Linked DNA regions of Homo sapiens: region 1 is linked to region 2. Evidence: promoter capture Hi-C in human tissues and cell types (Jung and others, 2019). All regions are on one chromosome and are shown on one strand. The core of a region is centred on a gene start or on the middle of the fragment in contact, and the rest is flanking DNA. Distances in the headings are between cores, read along the strand shown.

Region 1 (6,777 bases), core at 3,226-5,725, 40 kb before region 2:
GGACAGAGGCCACCCCAGGCCTTTGCTTTGCTTTTTCTTATCCATTAGGGTCCGCTGATTCTTTCACCAGCCCCTCCGGCTGTTCTGGCTTGGCCTTGGCCAAAAGACAGAGCAGTGAGACCCCAGGAACTGACTGATAAGCAAAGTTAATCAAGTGCCTGTGTTTCTTTCACAGGACTCTGACACCACCATACCAATGGACGAATCACTGCAGTTTAACTCCTCCCTCCAGAAAGTTCACAACGGCATGGATGACCTCATTTTAGATGGGCACAATATTTTAGATGGACTGAGGACCCAGAGACTGACCTTGAAGGTGGGGTCCCTGCTGGGGGACAGAGAGAAGGCCTCTTGTTTTAGCCTCATCCAACAGTTTAGTAACTGTGTTTATATTTTGATTACGTGTCCTCAAATTGTGATATTTTGATGACAAGACAGAGCCCTTGAGTTTGGGATCCTTTCTGTTGGAGTTGAGTTATTGTGAGCCTGAAAGTACCCAGTTCCTTTGCCAGTGCTTGAAACAAACCATGAAGTGGCCTCTCTTAGGATCCAGGTCTTTTCCCATTTACTGAACTTATCATGAAAGTGAGTGCTACTACGAGGGGTCCAATCACAGGCTGAGAAATTGTGTTACAGAATCTACTCTTGGAAGAATGAAGACGTGGCTGTCCTTTGGTACCTCGCTTTAAGGTGGCTTTCCCTTAGGACCCCTACTGTGGACTGCCTTATAACTAAAACCTTTTGTATTTTAGTAACTGAATCCCCACTGTGCAGTGTTAGGGCTGCCTGGTTGTTTGCAGTAGATTAGAGCTTTAGAAGCTTCTAGAGCTTCTAAAGCCCGTGCTGGTGATCCCAGCGACTCTTCACTCCCTAGCCTTAGGTATTCCTAGAAGCCCTGACCAGTTGGCACTGCTGAGACTCCAGCCCCTGGGAGTGGTTTACAGAAACATTACACAGACTCTGATGTCAGTCATGATGTTTCAGCCTCTGCCCTTTTCCTGTATCAACCCTGATGGATAATAGGGCGTGGGTTCTGTCTGTTATCAGGGTGTGGTCCCCTGTGAATGAAGCACTCCCAGCCACTGAGCTGTGAGAAACAGTCACTCGGAAGTGTGAGCTTTATCTTAGTTTTTGTTGGATCATGTTGAGTCTGTCAGCTCCACAGGACTTCAGTACGTTTCTGAACAGTCCCTGCCATCTCTACGGGGGAGAGGGTCAGGCAAGCTGCAAGTGACACTCACCTCCTGCTGACAGTTGCAGTGTCTCAGATGGCCTGGAAGGGTGGTCTCCAGCAGCCTGCTGGGCGCTCCCCTTTCATGAGAGCCACCTGCAGTGACCTGAACTGATACATGTTGATTAGTCTGCCCTTTCTTTAGAAAACTGCTACTCTCCTTTTCATATCTCAGAAAAACAGTAGAGGCCTTTTAGGACCAAACTCCATGTCACACTGATGAAGAGCCAGTGGGGGTTAGAGCGTCCTGTTAAGGCACATGCTAACTTCCCACTCAAGTCTGGCAGCGCTGGGGCATCAGCACACCTCTTGCCACCCACACTGATACCAGAGGGGAAGGCTGTGAGGTGGCTGGGGGTTGAGACTTGAGGTTTCTAACTTTCCTCTGCACACCTGTGGCTACCTGGTGTTTGTCTCTTGATTCCCTCCACCTGCCTCACACCCTGCCTCCGTCGGGATTTTCCACCTACACCATTCAAAAGGAACATAGGAGAGGGCATGAAGGGGCTAGGCTGAAGCACTCTGATGACTGGGGCCAATTTGTGGCTGAAAATGAATACATTTTTTGAAATTTATGGTCATTTTCAAGTGATTTAGAAGGTTGATCCTTAGCCTCATACAGTGATGAAATAATCTGTGTGTTCAGAGCCAAGCAGGACTTTAGCAAGAGTCTGATTGTATTGTCACTATCTCGGGGAAAAAAAAATACAAATACATTTCTCTGATCTCTGATGGCAATGAAGTTTGACTTGTAATTTCTCTGGCTGAGGCTTCTTAATTGCTTTCTGGGCAGAATGTAGATTTTGGATTCCTGTCCATGATGCCTAATGTTGATCTCACTTTCCTTGTTTCTCTCAGTTGCTCATTAATGTGTATTTATTAAAAAAAAAAAAAAAGGATATGGGGCATGAGGTTAGATGCCATGCATATAAGTTGCAGTGGGTGATATGTGCTGAGTGACTTGGGGTCTGCCCCGGCATTCACTTATACTTGTTTCTTACTAAGAAATTGAATGTGCTTTAAGCTGAAAATTAGAAAGCAGTAGGGAAGGACAGGCTGGATGGTTTGGGTTGTTGGTTTAGGAATAAAATGCCCTTTTGTTTTGGTGGTGGGTGATGCCATCTATAGAAGGGTTTTAGGTCATTGTGTTGGTGTCTTTCCGTCTTTCCCACTTGAGACCCTCTTGTAAATATGGACTTGACCCACCCATTGTACTCAGAAGAAACCTCAAAGATTGTACTCTACAAAGTAAATAGGTTGGTATCAATGATTATTGGAACTAGAGAGCCGAGGACAAGTTTTTTGATGTTGCCTTCTTTTTATAGTATAAAATATTCTAATTTTAAGTATTTTTGTTGAGATATAATTTACAGACAGTAAGGTATACAGATCATATTTTTACAATTCAGTGAATTTGGGCAATTGTATCAGCCTTTGTAACTCACACTCCCATCAAGGCCCGGACCATTTCACCTCTGAAAGATCCCTCGTACCCCTTCCCAGTCAGTTGACCCCTCTGCCCCAGGCAGCCACTGTTGTGATTTATTTCACCATAGATGAGGTTTTCTTGTTATTGAACTTCATATAAAGGTATTCATGCTACTCTTTTCTATGTGGCTTCTTCCTCCCAGTATGTTTCCAAGGTTCATTCATATTGTTACCTATTTAATTCCATGTTGGTAGTCAGGTACTTTTTATTGCAAAGCAGTATTCCATTGGTACAGGTTTACCATAGTTTGTTCATTCATCTTGTGATTAGTGACACCATTGTTTTCAGTATGTATTTATTTATGTATTTTTTGAGACAGGGCCTCCTTCTGCCACCCAGGCTGGAGTGCAGTGGTGTGATCTTGGCTTACTGCAGCCTCGAACTCCTGGGCTCAAGTGGTTCTGTCACCTTAGCCTCGCAAGTAGCTAGAACCACAGGTGCACACCACCACACCTGGCTAATTTTTTTTTGTAGAGAAGGGGTCTTCACTACGTGCCCAGGCTGATCTCGAAATCCTGGCCTCAAGTAATCCTCCCACCCACCCCTCCCAGAGTGCTGGGATTACAGGGATGAGTCCCTGCGCCTGGCCTGTTTGCAGTTTTTAGATATTCTCCTGTGTTTTTTTCTAGAAGCTTTAATTGTGGCTTTAGCTTTTATGTTTAATTCTATGAACCATCTCAAATTAATTTTTATGTATAATGTGAATTGAGGTTCAATTTTTACACACATATCTGTAAGAGAGATACATATATATAAAATACATACCTGTGATATTATATAGTCAGTCGTTCCAGCACCATTTGTGGAAAAGACTTTTCTTTCCACTTAGCGTTGCTCTGGTACCTTGATCAAAAATCAGTCGACGACATGAGAGTGGCTCTATTTCTGGCTGATATTGCTTTCTGTGTATTCTGGGCATGACCAAGAGAATGTCTGTTGGCAAAGCTCCATCTCCTGATGCCATTCACCCACTCTTGGTAAAGCGACTTGATGTTTGTTTTTTTTTCTGTTCTCTTCTGCCCCAGGGGACTCAGAAGAAGATCCTTGACATTGCCAACATGCTGGGCTTGTCCAACACAGTGATGCGGCTCATCGAGAAGCGGGCTTTCCAGGACAAGTACTTTATGATAGGTGGGATGCTGCTGACCTGTGTGGTCATGTTCCTCGTGGTGCAGTACCTGACATGAGCCAGCCACGCTCAGTGGCTGAACAGCATTCCCACAGCCTGCAAGTGTGTGTGTGTGTGAAAGAGAGAGGGGGGCCCAGAGGCCGCCTTTTGAAATGTTTGCCTGTCTGAACTGTGAAGACACTTGGGAGTGATTGTGGTCTAATTTCCAACCTGCTCTGTTTTCTGTGACATCTTGGAGGGGGAGCTAGTGCCACCACCATGCGCGGTGCTTAGGAAATGAAAGAAGTCCCGGGTCTGTCTCTCTCACTCTCGCTCTCACTGGGGGAGGGAAAGAATGGCTTTGGTGGCTTTGTTCACATAGCTGATGCGTGCCCTGGGAAGGTGTCCACAGTGAGCCCTGTGTGCAGGACTGTCCACACGGTTCACACCTTGTCACCATCAGGCCTTTCTGGCTCCTGATAGGGTGGAGCAAAAGTGGAAAGGAAAGGAAAGAGGCCTTTTCTCACAGCCATTATATTAAATAGTAGGTCGATTCACATCCTCGTGCTCCTGGCCACCCTCCCCTGTGCCTCAGTGACATGTAGATGACTGACTGCCAATACTTGTCACCATTCCCTGGAAGCAGCTACCTAGGGGAAACAAGATGTAGTGCTATTGCCGATAACAAGTAAGATTTTCCACACTACAGCTGGGTGTTTCTCTTTTCTAAAGTGAGGCCAGTGTTATTTCCCGGGAGTGTTCAGTCTTGACCCTAGTCACTGATTTTTTCTAGTTGTTAATAGAGTGGTTGGCTTTTAAGGTTCAGAGACTGTGGCTTGGCACCTGCGCCCAGGCTTTGTGGGCCTTTGCCCCTTAGAAAGTAGCTGTAGGCAAAGATTTGTGATTTTCCAATTACAGTCTCAGCTCTAGTTTTAGTATCTCTAATTCTTTGGTTCCCTTCTCTTCCCTGAAATATATTAGCACCTGCCAGCCAGGCCCTCATTTTGCCCAGCCAGTGTGGGCAGATCCCACCGTGGAGACATCTGTAGTGTGTATGTCCTTGTAACACTCTGTTTTCAGGGACTACAACCTTTTTCCTTCTGTGACCAGCCCCGGATTCAGGCTGTACTAATACCAGGTATATTGTGGAATTTAGTATAAAGGCCAATCTGTCCTGAAGTCCATCTAATGTGGTGAATCACTGAAAGTCTCAGAAAGACCTGGTTAGTGTATGTTCTCATTTACCACAGGCCTACCAGCCCTGGGCACAGCAGCTTCATGGCAAGACATAAAATGACACTCAAAATCCTTCAGATCTGGAAACCGGCTCAGTATTAACCCTACCTTTGGTTGTCCTGCCCTACCTGCTCTGTTAGTTTCTTGTTGCTTGAACTGTCTTCTGTCTTATTTCCCTTCCTTTCTGTGTTCCTCTTCACCTCTCTTGTTCCCCTCCCCGCTGCTCTGTAGTCATGTTGGTCCTTTCAGGCACCTCTGTGGCATAGCTCCCCTTTGGTAAGTTTTCTTAATTGTCATAGATTAACTGAGTTTCCTGGATGCTAATTTCACACTTTCGGTTGGAGGAGATCTCCATTGTTCCTACCCCTCCGGGCCAAATGGGCCCCAGGTTTCCAAGGAAGGAGCAATCTGTGACTCCTAAAATGGGTTGGGGCCCTGCCAGAGTTAAAGCAGTGACTGGAGGGTGGACTGGGGGGTTGCAGCATCTTTAGACCTAGATCTGTCTAACTCTGGGGAGGCACATTGACATTTCCATTACACACAGCACTGCTGCGGTGCCAGGGACCTAGCGCAGGACTTTTGGTAATCCATAAAATGGATTCTGAGACTGCGACGGCAAGGCTGTCCTGTCCCCCAGGCACCCAAGGATCCTGCCAGACAGCACACTTTGGAGGAAGGTCTGCAGGGAGCAGCTGAGCCATTTGTTCTTGAACTCTGGGAGGCAGAAGTCCCCGCACCCATCATGCGTGGACTGATAGGACATCTTTTCGTGGTGTGCACCAGTGCTTTCCACACTTGACAGTGGTTGGCTTTGATGAACCCTCATGCTGCACCTTCAGAGCCAGTCCTCTAGTTTGGAATAAAAATTGCAGAGGTGGTTTTTGGGTCTTTACCACCTGCGGCTGGTGGACAGCAGCCAGTGTGTCTGGACACCCAGGGGCATTGAGACTGCATGTTGTCACATGACCACTTCTCTTCACACATCTGCTTTCAGTGCCTGGTGAAAAATAGACCTTGGCCTAACAGTGTGACTCTCTCCACCGCCTCAGTGTAGGGAAGGGTCCAGGCCAGGGAAGGAGCACCCTCTAGTGGAGGCGGGGGTGAATTCTTAGGTCGAGCTGATGCAAGAAACTCCGGTAGCCAGCCTCTGTGACCTTGTACATGAGTTTGGTGTGCCTATTGTGATTTAAAACAGGTGGGTTATCAAGAGGAACTTGAGATCTCTTTATTACATGGACATTTACTTCAGGGGGACCACTGTAAGAAAAGCCAAACTCCAAGACCAAGTAAGTTAGAGGAGTCTTGATTTTTTAGACTTCACTGCGGAGTTCTGTACACCCTTTGCCCTGATGAATTTGAATGGGTTTGATTTGCAAATTTGGATTTACACCCATTGTTTTGGAAGCACATCAGCTGAATAAAGTTGAGGTTTATTTTATTTAGAAAATCACATTTTGTAAAAGAATTCGATATTCATTTTTATAACTAATGGCCCCCTTTTTTTATGTTTCTAGGCCAGAGATTCTCAAACACTGCTCCATGGCCAGGGGCTGGGCTGGCTGCTTCAGAAGCAGTGGGGAAGCTTTTTAAAATTACATATTCCTGGGGCCTACCCCAGATCTGAATTAGAACCTTTTTTAAATCTCTAAGGTGATTTTATTTTATTTTTTATTTTTGAGACAGTCTCGCTCTGTCACCCAGGCTGGAGTGCAG
Region 2 (6,776 bases), core at 798-3,297:
TTCCCTTCGCTTCTCTTAGCTAAAAGCAGCTAAGACTTCAGTCACCTTCCTCGTTATTCTTCACTCCCACCCACAGCAAAAGAGAGAAGAAAGGGAGAAATCCAGTCTCTCCCCGACCAAGTCTTCCAAGAACCGCTTGAGCGGGGTTGGCACTAGGACTAAGTGTAGTGGGGGATACATAGGCCAGAAAGCCCAGCCTTCTCTCCTCCAGTGTCCCCAGGTCCCCCTGTCCCCAACTTCCAGAAAGCAGAGCTGTCCTCTCGCTGTCCGCTAGGGAGTAGCCAGTTCTTGCTGCTCCACACTGCTGCAAGGGAAGTTAGCACCTGCAGGAGGCGTGGGTTTCTGGGCAGCTGGGGCATCCTGTAATGGGAGGCTCCAAGTCCCCTGCAGGCAACTGCGTTTGGAGGCCATTTTCTCCATTGTATAATAAACATCCTGGGACTTCCTCACCACAAAGCCGCCAACCCCCACCCCTATGGGATGCAACAAGGGGGTTTCTTCCGTCTACTCATCTGTCCGCTATAAGGGTAGGGACAAAGCAAGCCCTTAGAAGGGGCTTTGGCCTTATAATTAAACTTTTAACTAGATCTAGTTTTCCCCTCTGCCAAATTGAATTTTCCTTGTTCACATTTTCTTCGTTTTGGACACAGCTGACTGATTTTGTTTCATCTCATATTAGACTCATATATCCAGTGATTTAATTAATCTCACCAGCTGTCTGGCTGTCCCACAGGACCTGCCTTCTCCGCTGTTGGCGTTAGAAAACGATTCCCTTTGCCTTTCCTCGCTCTGGCCTCCGCGTGGAGCCCCAGGATCCTTGACCTGACCTGTGGGCTCCCCAGCCAGGCGTCCACGCAGGGGCTAGATGTCTCCCACGGGGCTCAAAGTGTCCGCCAGGAGGGTACATGCCCTCCGCCCCGCAACACACACACACACCTCACAGGCGCGGGTGGGAAGCTGCCTGAAGCCCTACGGCTGCAGTTTTATTACAAGATTTCTTTCCAAACGCAAGATCAGGCCAACAAGCTCAGCGACTCTGACGCTTCACATCTTCACCCACTCGCACCGTGTTCCGAACCCACCCGCACCAACGTACACACAAAACTCCCACGCGAGCGACCGCAGTCCCAAATTGCATCTCCATACCCACTCCCACCCTGCCCCGAACGTCTTAAAAAACAAACAAACAAAAAAAACTGGTAAGAACCCTCACCCCACATTCTCCCACCCCGCAACGCTGCAGCGCACACAGGACAGAGCCGGGCGTCCAAGTCCCTTCCCGCGCCCCCGCCGACAGTCTCGCCGCGTCCCCGCCCGGGCGCCCCAGGCACGTAGCTGCCCGCCCGGAGGCGGCGGCAGAGCGCAGAGAGCGGGGCGAGGGTCCGGGTCTCCGGGGTCCTTCTTGCAGCAGCGCTGGCGAGGGCGGACCCAGATGGCGCTCAGTACAGCCCCAGGATGGCTGCGCCCACGTCCTTGGAGGGCCGGCGCTCCTGCACCAGAAAGTTGATCATGCTCTCGGACTTGATGAGCAGGTTGCAGCCCAGGAAGAAGACGCCGAAGACCACGGTAAGCGACAGCACGCAGAGCACGGCGATCTGCGCCACCCGCGACACCCACAGGCTGCGCTCGTCGGGCGCCAGCCCCGCGGGGACCCCGTCGCTGGCGGCCAGCGGTGCGCCCCCTGGACAGCAGCCCAGCCACGTGCCCAGCCCGTGGGTGCGGTTTCCCAGGGCGGCCCCGGCGCCGCCGCCCACGCCGTCCACCTCCTCCAAGCCGCTGTGGTTCAGGAAGGTCGCGTTCATCGCCGCGCGGCGCCGGGGGTCTCGGCGCGCAGTCCCGGGTGCACTGGGCTGCTCGCCGGGGTCCGCGCTCTCAGGGACGCTCCGGACCCCTCGGACCGGCTCCTGCGGTACGGGGAGGGGACGAAGGCGGGAGGCTGGCTGCCTGCGCGCTCTCGGGCCGCCTACCCCTGGGCACCGGGCGGGAAGCGACCGCCCGGAGGAGCGAGCAACAGGCGGCGCAGGAGCTGGAGCCGGAGAACCTAGTGTGCTTAGCGGTCGCCCGCTGGGTTCCTCGCGCGCCTGGCCGCCCCTCCCCTAGCAACGGCCCGGCCCCGCCCCGCCGGTCCCCGCGGCATCTCCGAGGGGCGGGAATCCCGCCGCGGGCGCAGCCTCCCCGGAGTCCCGGTGCTGGAGGGGGTCGGGAGATCCGGCAGCCTCTGTCCGCGGGCCGGCGAAACTCCACCCCCTCCTGGCACCCGCTGTCCGTTCTTGGCTAGAAAACCTCTCCAAGGTGCCCATTCCAGGATTTGATACCCTTAGCAGTGAAGTTATTCCGGAATCTGCCCTGACTCTCTTCGCTTATTATTTAAGCCCTCGTAAGCCTTGCTAGACATCAGATGAGTCGCCGGGACCCCTGGCGCTGCCCACTCCACTGGCCCCGGGTCTCCTGGGCGGTCCTGCCTCACAGCTTTCCCGGGGTGAAAGCTGTCGCGGCGAGGCGGGCTCTCTGCCTCCTTCCCTACACCCTCCTCTCAACTTGGTCCCATTTAACTTTTTTTTTAAATTAAAAAATAAATTACTGTTTTTTTCTTTCTTTTTTACACAAACATAGTCATTGTAGACTAGTTTAGAAAACATGAATTACCGAAATTACTCTAAAACTTTATAATCTGCCTCCTAGAGAGTGTCGATGTTATCACCTGGGTATAAACTCCTCCCAGACTTTTTCTATTTGTGCCTTTCTCTAGATAACAGATATGGGGATGCACCGTTCCTGCTTACTGCCTCCCAACCTTTCCTCACTTAACAGCGTAACTTTCCCTAGCGATGGTCCTCTACAGCTATGGCTCTGAATTGCCTTGGAGGGTTTATTAAAACCCAGATTGCTTCCACCTCCCGCCCCCAACCTCCCCACCCCAACCAACCCCAAGAGTTTCTGAATCAGATGTGGGATGGGGCCCCAGAATGTGCATTTCTAACAGTTCCCACGTGATGCACAAACTACTGAGCTACAACATCATTTTTAGTGAAGGAATGGCATTTTAAGGTATGGACTACTACAGTTTATTTAACCAAGCTTCCTGCTGGATGTCTGAGTTTTTCTTTCCTTCTTCTTCCTTCTCCCTTTCCTTCTCTCCTTCCTTCCTTCTTCTTTCTTTCTCTTCTTCTTTCTCTTCTTTCTTTCTCTTCTTTCTTCTTTCTTTCTTTCTGTCTTCTTTTTTCTTTCATCAGAAACAATATTACCATAAGGAGCCTTGTAACAAAGTATTTGTGCCAAAACTGATTTTTCTTTAGATTGTATTTTGAAAAATGGACCTGTAGAATCAAAAAGTAGGCCGGGCGCGGTGGCTCACGCCTGTAATCCCAGCACTTTGAGAGGCCGAGGCGGGTGGATCACGAGGTCAGGAGATCGAGACCATCCTGGCTAACACCGTGAAACCCTGTCTCTACTAAAAATACAAAAAAAAAAAAAAAAATTAGCCGGGCGTGGTGGCGGGCGCCTGTAGTCCCAGCTACTCAGGAGGCTGAGGCAGGAGAATGGCGTGAACCCGGGAGGTGAAGCTTGCAGTGAGCCGAGATCACGCCACTGCACTCCAGCCTGGGTGACAGAGCGAGACTCCGTCTCAAAAAAAATAAAATAAAATAAAATAAAAAAAGAAAAAAAGAATCAAAAAGTACTTCCTACTAAATTGCTTTCCAGAAATATACCAGTGTACAATCATGCCCTGTGGGGAAAGGGGGCTCCCCACCCCCAACATTGTTATCATTATTTTAAAAGTCTTTGCCTGAGTAGCGAAGGGGGGTGGGGGCAGGGGTGGTTTCTCACCCGTATGTTAATTTGCATGCTTTGATTGTTGCAGGAGAGTAAAGAAAGCACTTTGTTATTGCAATAATGCAGGCAAAAGATGCTGCCTGGAGACTTGAATTCCAGTGGTGACAGTGAAGTGGGAGACAAGGGGATGGAAAGGGCATGGCAAATTGGAGTGAAGGGATTCGGGATGCCCCAACACACAGGCATCACAGAGCCTCTGCTCCCTGTTATGGTTTGAATATGTCTCCCCAAGTTCATCTGTTGAAAACTTGACCCCCAATGTGGAGGTGTTGGGAGGTGGGGTGAGATGCTGCCATTGTTTGGGTCAGGGGCACCACCCTCATGAATAGATTAGTGCCATTGTCTCAGGAGTGGGTTCTTTATAAAAGGATGAGTTCCACCCCTCTTTCTCTTTCTCTCTCTTCTCTTTCTGGCATGTGATGTCTTCTGCCATGTTTTAATGCAGAAAGAAGGCACTCACCAGATAGATGCTGGCCACTCGATCTTGGACTTCCCAGCTCCTAGACTGTGAGAAATTAATTTCTATTTATAAATTGCCCTCTTTATAACAAGCATCCTGTTATAGCAGCATAAAGCAGACTAAGACACCCATACCCATCCTGATACTCATTATTAGAACATTAAGCATGTGTGTATATCCTGGTAAGTTATTAAAATTATTATTTTATTTATTTATTTTTATTTTGAGACAGGATCTCGCTCTGTTGCCCAGGCTGGAGTGCAGTGGTGCAATCACAACTCACTACAGCCCTGATCACCTGGCTCAAGTGATCCCCTTACCTCAACTTTCTGAGTAGCTGAGCCCACAGGCATGTGCCACCATAATTTTTTATTTTATTTTTTGTTCAGACAGGGTCTCACTATGTTGCCCAGGATGGTCTCGAACTCCTGGGCTCAGATGATCTACCACCTCAGTCTCCCAAAGTGTTGGGATTACAGGTGTGAGCCACTGTGCCTGGCAAAATTATCACTTTAAAGATGAAGAAACTGAGGCACACATAGGCACCCCAGATTGGGAAACAACCTGGCTCAAGCTCCTCAGTCCTGGGAAAGCTGGCCTGGCGCAAAGGCATGCAGTTTTCAGGGCAAGAGTCTCCCCTGCCCTGATCACCCCTTGGAGCCAGGATAGAACAGGGAGTCCAGCAGGTGTCTGGCCCGAACATTCTGTCCTCTGCTTTGGCCCAATTGGATTTCTGTAGAGAAATGCTCAGTTATATCCTTTGTCTGAAACCAACCCCTGGCTTTTGCTATACCCTGGACTTGGAGTCCGTACCTTGATTGCATCCAGCTGAAGTCAGACTGCCTGATGTAAAGGAAAGGGGTGGGGTGAGTGAGGATGCAGAATGGGGCCCTGCCCACTCCAGCGAGTTGTGAGGAGGCTGACATGATGGCTGACCTTTCCTTTATTAAGCATCTATTACATGCCCAGTGCATTAAATACATTACCTCCCTGAATTCTCTCACACCAGCCTTTGGGTTCTGCTGGACTGTCCCCTTGACATGAGGAAACAGCGGCACTGACTGTTTAATTGACTTACTTAAGATCACGCAGCTAGTTAAGCATCAGAGCCAGAATTTCAGCCCAGATCTGTCCTGTTCCAAAGCCACGCTCTTCATTATCCCCGTCCCCCTCTCTCCCATCATCCCTGGGGGAGGTGCTGGGGAGGGAAAAAGACATCTTTGACCTGGGAGCAGGAAGGGGGAGAGAGACCTTGGGCTTGTGGATGTAAACAAAGACCACTCAAATGAGAGCAAGCAAAGGCTGTTTATTCAGAGCTTGTTACAGTAAGGGAGGCAGCCACTGTCACTTGCTTTTCATGGAGACTCAAAGGCAGGCCGAGGGGAAGGCTTTATAGCGGAAAAAGGAGAAGGCTTCAGGTACGTCCTGTTGGTGGTGCAGGAAAGCTACAGTTGGGCTCATTAGAAGAGGGGCATCCTAAGTAATTGGTTAGGGGAGCATATTTGGCTTTCTCCGGTTTGTCCTGCATTGAAAGTGGGAACAAAATTAGGGAAGCTGTCAGTTACCATCAAGTCCTGGCCATTTGGGGCTGATTGCTGCAGGGGTTGTTCGTTGGCTTCCTGGGCTGGTGCTGTAGGTTTGGGGGCAGAGTTCTATTTTAATATGTGGTCTGGCCATTGTCTATTTGCATATTTGGTCTCCCAGAACCATCCACGTCAGGAGCAGGACCCCATCTGGCCTGGACCTAGCTAACCACTCCTCCTTCTGTGGTTTCTGTCTGCCCTTTCTTCTTTTTTTTTTTTTTTTTTTTTTTTTGAGACGGAGTCTCGCTATGTCACCCAGGCTGGAGTGCGGTGGCATGATCTCTGCTCACTTCAGCCTCCAGCTCTCAGGTTCAAGTGAGGCCTGCCTCAGCCTCCCGAGTAGCTGGGATTACAGGTGTCCGCCACCATGCCTGGCTAATTTTTGTATTTTTAGTAGACACAGGGTTTCACCATGTTGGCCAGCTGGTCTCGAACTCCTGACCTCAGATGATCCACCTGCCTCGGCCTCCCAAAGTATTGGGATTACAGGCATGAGCCACTGCACCCGGCCCTGTCTGCCCTTTCTTGAGCCTCTGGTCCCAGCAAGTTTGGTTGTAGTTTGATGTGTATTAACTCTTAATTCTCATAATAACCCTGAAAGGTAAGTGTGTTTGTTATTTATTGCTACATCACAAATATCTCAAATTGAGCAAACATTTATGATCTCATGTGATTTCTGAGGGCCAGGAACCTATAAGCAGCTTAGGTGGGTGGCTCTGGCTCAAGGTCTCTCATGAGGTTGCCGTCAGGATGTTGGCCAGGACTGCAGTCATGTAAAAGCCTGACCAGGGAGGGGCCATTGGCTTCCAAGGTGACCCCTTACACGGCTGTTGGCAGGAGGCCTGTTCCTCATTGGCTGTCGGCAGGGGGATCCTCTGTTCCTCGCCATCGGACCTCTC

What was found. Contacts are between HindIII fragments. The study calls those that stand out against the background at their distance.
Region 1: a contact is called between a fragment that was not itself captured here and the fragment with the promoter of RPRML in region 2, in 3 of the 25 tissues and cell types used here (IMR-90 fibroblasts, dorsolateral prefrontal cortex and lymphoblastoid cells).

Annotation. Positions count from the first base shown.
Region 1 is chr17:46,934,854-46,941,630 of GRCh38, forward strand. GOSR2 (golgi SNAP receptor complex member 2) reads left to right here. Exons shown (of 6, transcript NM_004287.5): 5 at 176-316; 6 at 3,746-6,777. The coding sequence ends at 3,907. It also overlaps a transcript of LRRC37A2 not described here. Among named protein-coding and RNA genes, the nearest start is that of GOSR2, 15 kb to the left of the region's middle. The HindIII fragment of the contact is 4,781 bases long and covers 2,086-6,777 here.
Region 2 is chr17:46,977,206-46,983,981 of GRCh38, forward strand. RPRML (reprimo like) reads right to left here and starts at 2,048. Exons shown (of 1, transcript NM_203400.5): 1 at 951-2,048. The coding sequence starts at 1,802. The coding sequence ends at 1,440. It overlaps LOC101927060 (a long non-coding RNA gene), which reads right to left. Exons shown (of 9, transcript XR_243711.6): 9 at 5,581-6,776. It also overlaps a transcript of LRRC37A2 not described here. RefSeq lists enhancers at 153-833, 834-1,513 and a silencer at 1,991-2,170. The HindIII fragment of the contact is 12,504 bases long and covers 1-3,320 here.